Regions from separate parts of the Homo sapiens genome. Here region 1 is linked to region 2. Evidence: promoter capture Hi-C in 16 types of primary human blood cells and fetal thymus (Javierre and others, 2016). All regions are on one chromosome and are shown on one strand. Each heading gives the region's core, a stretch centred on a gene start or on the middle of the fragment in contact. The rest is flanking DNA. Distances are from core to core; before and after follow the strand shown. Region 1 has its middle 650 kb from the start of GJE1. Region 2 holds the start of CITED2 (Cbp/p300 interacting transactivator with Glu/Asp rich carboxy-terminal domain 2).

Evidence for each region. The method cuts DNA at HindIII sites, captures the fragments that hold promoters and counts their contacts. A CHiCAGO score of 5 or more calls a contact.
Region 1: a contact is called between a fragment that was not itself captured here and the fragment with the promoter of CITED2 in region 2, in 1 of 17 cell types (naive B cells). The highest score is 6.3, in naive B cells.

Annotation. Positions count from the first base shown.
Region 1 is chr6:141,485,570-141,488,744 of GRCh38, reverse strand. It overlaps the pseudogene RN7SKP106. Among named protein-coding and RNA genes, the nearest start is that of GJE1, 650 kb to the left of the region's middle. RefSeq lists a silencer at 1-146. The HindIII fragment of the contact is 2,596 bases long and covers 294-2,889 here.
Region 2 is chr6:139,373,362-139,376,384 of GRCh38, reverse strand. CITED2 (Cbp/p300 interacting transactivator with Glu/Asp rich carboxy-terminal domain 2) reads left to right here and starts at 1,737. Exons shown (of 2, transcript NM_006079.5): 1 at 1,737-1,972; 2 at 2,433-3,023. The coding sequence starts at 2,441. RefSeq lists silencers at 889-1,198, 1,369-1,748, 2,209-2,358, 2,929-3,023 and enhancers at 1,899-2,068, 2,579-2,638. The HindIII fragment of the contact is 2,760 bases long and covers 1,263-3,023 here.

The DNA of each region.
Region 1 (3,175 bases), core at 342-2,841, 2.1 Mb before region 2:
TGCTCCTTTAAACAGCTACTGACCTGCTGCTAGACTGTAACTTCCTGTTTCTGCATCACCCTTCTCCACTTAAGCCGTTTCTCTGAAAACAAATGAGATAGAAATGCTGGACACAGGAACACTCAGTATGTGCCTGTGTTAACACTACTTAAGGGAAATCCTCAACAATTGGGGCTAAAAGGCAATGGCTAAATCCTGTAGCTTCCTTGTACTGGGGTAGAACTAACCCAAGGTATGTTCCTTACAATCCCCAGTGGGATTGTGACTCAGTTGTTAACTGTGGTACTCAAGCTTGTTAAGACGTAACTTTATTGCCCCTTTTCTCTTACCTATTTCCCTTTCTTTCTTTTCTCATTTTTGGTGCCTGGGATCAACTTCAAAATAAAGTGTCTGTGTCCAAATCCTTGACTCCATTGGATTTGGTGGGGGAAGGATTAAGACTAAACAGAATATGAGAATGTCCATTCCAGCATGATTTGTAATAGTAAACAATCAGCAAAATTGAGGCTTTTAAATTTTATTGTGTTTTATAGTAGCTTAGCAAAATAAATCAATAATTTATTTTTATATCTAGAACAACCGAGAATTTACATTCAGAGATATTAAATTTATAATATCTTCATAAATTGGAATTGGAATTAATTTATAATATTTTCTTATGTGAAGTCAATACTACTGACTATCAAGACTTCTTATATGAAGTCAATACTATTATCACTTTTTGGTGTAAGTGTGGAACATACATTCAAATGACTACCAAGTAATGGGATTATATGCATGCTTAGAAATAAATACAGATATCAAGTTCTGAATAAGTGGTCATGGTAATATTTATTCCCAGATAATTGCAACAAACCATGTAGAAATTATATATTTCTTAGATGAATCAACAATTCAATTGTATTATACTGTGTATTAGTCTGTTCAGGCTGTCAGAACAAAATACAATAGACTTGATGGCCTAAACACAGAAATGTATTTTCTCATAATTCTGAAACTGGAAGTCCAAAAGCAAGGAGCCAGCAGGGTTGGTGTGTGGCGAGGGTTTGCCCCTTGGGTTGCAGATGATTGGATGCCTCCTTGCTACATTTGCTACATGCTGTCTTGATCTTTTCTTTGTGTCCTCCTGGAGAGACAGCTAGAGAGAGAGAGAAAGAGAGAGAGTGAGAGAGAGGAGAAAGTTATTTTTCTCTCTGGTGTTTCTTCTTATAAAGACATTATTTCTATTGGATTAGTGTCCCAATTTAATGATCTTATTTAACCTTAATTATATCTGTAGAGGCTTCTTCCCCAAATACACAAATACAGTCATATTGGCAGTTAGGCCTTCAATATATGAATCTGGGGGAAGGAATATAAATATTTAGTCTATAATATACTCACATTCTGTACTCAAGACTTTTTATTAAAATAAGTTACAAGGAACTTATCATCCACTGATTACTAAGAGGCGTTGGGAACCATATGCAAATAATTTTTAATCTTGATCCTTCTAACACTTTATTACAAACTATTCATATCTAGAATTTAAGATTTGGATGAAACTTTTCAGATTATCTACTATAAGCACAACGTACAAGGATATTTCTATGTGTTTCTTGGCAAGGTGCCAGGATCATACTCTATTTCTGGGCGGAGGGAACAGTGCATTGTATTTACCTAAATATTTAGAGAGTCTTCTTAATATTGACTTATAATATTTTTTCTTATAATGTCTATACATTTGACATAAATATGCCATCTGGAAAATGCTGACCATATGTGTTCTCTGATTCCAAGTATCACTGTATTTATTTTCATGGTAACCTAGCTTCAGAACAACTCAAGTGCTCAAACCAAACACTGTAATATGGATACTGCCTGTCAACTAACAGATACTTTTTCTATGATTTCCTCATAAAAAGTATTTGCACAGGCTGGGTGTGGTGGCTCAGCTGTAATCCCAGCACTTTGGGAGGCTGAGGTGGGCGGATCATGAGGTCAGGAGTTCGAGAACAGCCTGGCCAACGTGGTGAAACCCCGTCTCTACTAAAAATACAAAAATTAGCTGAGCGTGGTAGTGAGCTTCTGTAATCCCAGCTACTCAGGAAGCTGAGGCAGGAGAATCATTTGAACCCAGGAGGCAGAGGTTGCAGTGAGCCGAGATCACGCCACTGCACTCCAGCCTGGGCGAGAGAGCCAGACTCTGTCTCAAAAAAAAAAAAAAAAAAAAAAGGATTAGCACGATACAGAACCCTTTTCTCATAATGCCATTTCAAAATTAAAGTTATTTGTTTTGTTGTTGTTGTAGTTGTTTTGGTAAAAGGAAGAAGAAGAAGAAGAGAAAAATTATGGATATGAGGGCAATCTAAGAGCAACATCTATCAACCATTTGATTGCCAGGGTTGGTGCAGCAGATCTGGTTGACTAGACAGGTGTTCCCTTCCTTCCTCACCACTCCATATGCGTTCCTTCCAAAGCTGTGTGCTCGGTAAAAGAGGATGACCATCCGCGATGGAGAAGGACCCATCTTCAGTCAAGGGCACGTGAGTAGATGGGCTTCCCTGCTAGAACTTCCAAACAAGCTCTCAAGAAGAGAAAAATCAATCACATGATATTATTCTTCACCTCTCTTGTTTATTATTTATTGATTTATTTTGTTGCTATTGTTGAATAGTTCATATAGAGTAAGTCTGGAGAAAAATAAATTAAACGGTAAGGACAATTCAGTGATTATCCAATTGAACAGCTGTATGTGAAATAACATCATTATTGGTATTACTTTATTACTTTTAGGGTTTGAATTCTTGTGTTCAAGTGTAGTTCTTTCAGATATTGTTGCTGTATTATCATCTCTAAATTTGTAAGTTGTTTCTTATTTCACAGGGACATAAAGACTGGAAACAAGCTTCATTGCCATTGGGGTTCAGTTGTATCTAAGTGATAAGAGAAAATTTCTTGGTGTTGTAGAAGAGCAGAAGCCATTGTTCTCATGCCATGGCTGAGGATAAATGTGTGGGCTTTGACAAATGGCAGACATGGGTTTTTGCCCATTGATTTTGGAGATCTTCCTGAGAATCATCTTCTTAGGTGTGGTAGGCAACTAAAATAATTGTTAATGGCTTCCTGAGATTCCTTCACTTAAAAATATCTTGAAAGCAGCTTTTCTGACTGTCATTTTGCCACCTCTCAGCAG
Region 2 (3,023 bases), core at 488-2,987:
AGAAGACAAGACACAAAGTAACAACATTTACAAAAATATGCCTGACTAGGAAAAGACAGAGGGGTCATAGACGAAAATAATCAGGATTGGGTCTCTTTTGCAAATTCCTGAACGGGGAAATGTATCAGAATTTCCAGTCCTCAAGAAACAGGGCCTTTAAAAGTCTTGTGTGCAAGAAGGGGGAAAAAGACGAGGGGGGGGCGGGGAGGCGGACTCGCTCTTCGCAGCAGGAAGTCTTCAATGGCTATCGAGTTATGAAGAAACAACTGCCCAGAAGTCCTTATTCGGAGCGCTAAACTCGATTTTACCACATAAAGAGCAATGTAAAAGCTCAGAACAGCCCCATCATGGTGTTGGGGAAACAACTCGGCTTCCCCATGTGAGAAAGCCAGAGAGCTCCGACTTGGTAGTAGCCCAGACCTGTGTTAGGGGTTTTATTTGCAAGTCAATGAACCAAACGGGCGACCAGGCTCGTTGTGCCGCGTTGTGGAAGCAAGGTTATTATTATCGCCCATTGCCCCACTGAACAATTTCACTGAAAAGGAAGAGTCCCAGCCGTGTGTGTGCGCGTGGTGCCATACGGGACGTGCAGCTACGTGCCCACCTCCAGAACGACTTTATTTACAAAGCGATTACCACGTTATCTATTTGTTTTCCTTTTCCAGCAAGAGCAGCCTTACTCAGCCCTCAAATTTCTTAATTACAAACCCGTTTGCTTCTAAATCAACCCCAAACCGTCAGGCAGAGCCCGGAGGGAGGCTCTGCAAGTTTGTACACACCCCCACCTCCCGGATCCAGGGCAACAGCAGAAGCAAGTAACTGTGTATGTGCAAAAAGGTGGATCTGGGGACGAGGATCGCTGAGTTTGTTTACAGAGCAGAGACGCCTCAGCTCGGATGCCAAAGCTACCAAGAGCTGCAAACGCAAACTTAGCAGAAGCACACGTACCCCGGGAGCGGCAGGCGGGCCCGAAAGCGCGGACTGGAATTCCAGGGCGCGGGAGCGGGGGTGGCCGGGCCCTCGAGCGCGCTCCGTCCACCTGCAGCGGCTGCCCCTCCCCGCCCCCAGCTCCTGTCCTTGAAAGGAGTGGAGGAAAAAAATGCATCTACAAGCGGTGATCTAGAGTAGGTCTACCCACTGCCCGTATGAAAACACAAAGGCACAGCCTAGGAAGGCGCGCTCAGGAAAGGGCGCATTATTTGTCCGGGTCTTTAAAACCCAACTCGAGGAAGCACAGCCATTCTTCGCTGCCTGTGGAAGCTTTTGCAAAACCGGGGAGGCACAAGGGCACTCTGGAGGGCGGGGGGCGCTGGGCGAGTCCCCTTTTCCCGTAGAGAGCGGGGCAGATCGCTAGGTGAACCGAGTGAGAAAGCTGGGGGTGGGGTAGATCCAGCCTGAGGGGGGCGGTGAGCTCTCCTCGTGGCTATCCCGGCAGGCTCTACCTTCGGGCGGGGCGGCAGGGGAGGATTTTCCCCCTGCCTCGGGGGTGGCTGAGCCAACCTCGCGTTTCTGGGCCGGGAAGAAACCAGAGTCGGGGGGCGACGGGGCGACTGGGCGGCCCCCGGGCCCCGCAGCCTCTGCAGCACGTGCCGCGGGCGGCGGGGACGCGGCTCCGGGACCCGGTCCAGGGTGTTCGCGGTGTTCCGGAATCCGCGTCTTGGCGCCGCCCGCCCTGGAGGCTCTCGCTCCGCCTTTCCGAAATGCCTATATTAACTGTGGCCAAAGCCCTAAGAAACACAGCTCATTGTTGGCAGCTGCCGGGCGGTCCTGCCGAGCTGTGAGGGCAACGGAGGGGAAATAAAAGGGAACGGCTCCGAATCTGCCCCAGCGGCCGCTGCGAGACCTCGGCGCCGACATCGCGACAGCGAAGCGCTTTGCACGCCAGGAAGGTCCCCTCTATGTGCTGCTGAGCCGGTCCTGGACGCGACGAGCCCGCCCTCGGTCTTCGGAGCAGAAATCGCAAAAACGGAAGGTAAGCGCGACGGGCGAAGCTGGCTGGGGCTCTTGCCAGCCCAGTCCTCCGAGGGCAGGGTTTGCCCGGAGGAAGAGCGTGAGGCGAAGCTGGGGAATAACAACAGGATGTGCAACAACAGGATGAGGAGGGCTGATTTAATGCCTGAAGTTCGCAGCAGGGCTACGGGGCACTTCCTTTATTAGGCCACTTCGGGGAGCAAAGGGGGTGTGGGCTCGGGTCCCCCCGCCCGATCGCAGGGGAAGGGGCTGTTTGTGCAGCGTCCGGCTGTGTTATGAGTGGTAGCTCTTCCGTGGTGGCTAGCCCGGGTGCACAGGCTGTTAGTGGGATCTTGGGGGTGGTGGTTCGCAGCCGACGTGCGCCCGGGAATCCTGGGGGGCAGAGGCGAGCAAAAGTGGGGTGCGCTGTGGTGGGCGACACGTGTGGCGCGGGTCTCATTATCTGCCCTTTTCACTTCCAGGACTGGAAATGGCAGACCATATGATGGCCATGAACCACGGGCGCTTCCCCGACGGCACCAATGGGCTGCACCATCACCCTGCCCACCGCATGGGCATGGGGCAGTTCCCGAGCCCCCATCACCACCAGCAGCAGCAGCCCCAGCACGCCTTCAACGCCCTAATGGGCGAGCACATACACTACGGCGCGGGCAACATGAATGCCACGAGCGGCATCAGGCATGCGATGGGGCCGGGGACTGTGAACGGAGGGCACCCCCCGAGCGCGCTGGCCCCCGCGGCCAGGTTTAACAACTCCCAGTTCATGGGTCCCCCGGTGGCCAGCCAGGGAGGCTCCCTGCCGGCCAGCATGCAGCTGCAGAAGCTCAACAACCAGTATTTCAACCATCACCCCTACCCCCACAACCACTACATGCCGGATTTGCACCCTGCTGCAGGCCACCAGATGAACGGGACAAACCAGCACTTCCGAGATTGCAACCCCAAGCACAGCGGCGGCAGCAGCACCCCCGGCGGCTCGGGCGGCAGCAGCACCCCCGGCGGCTCTGGCAGCAGCTCGGGCGGCGGCGCGGGCAGCAGCAACAGCGGCGGCG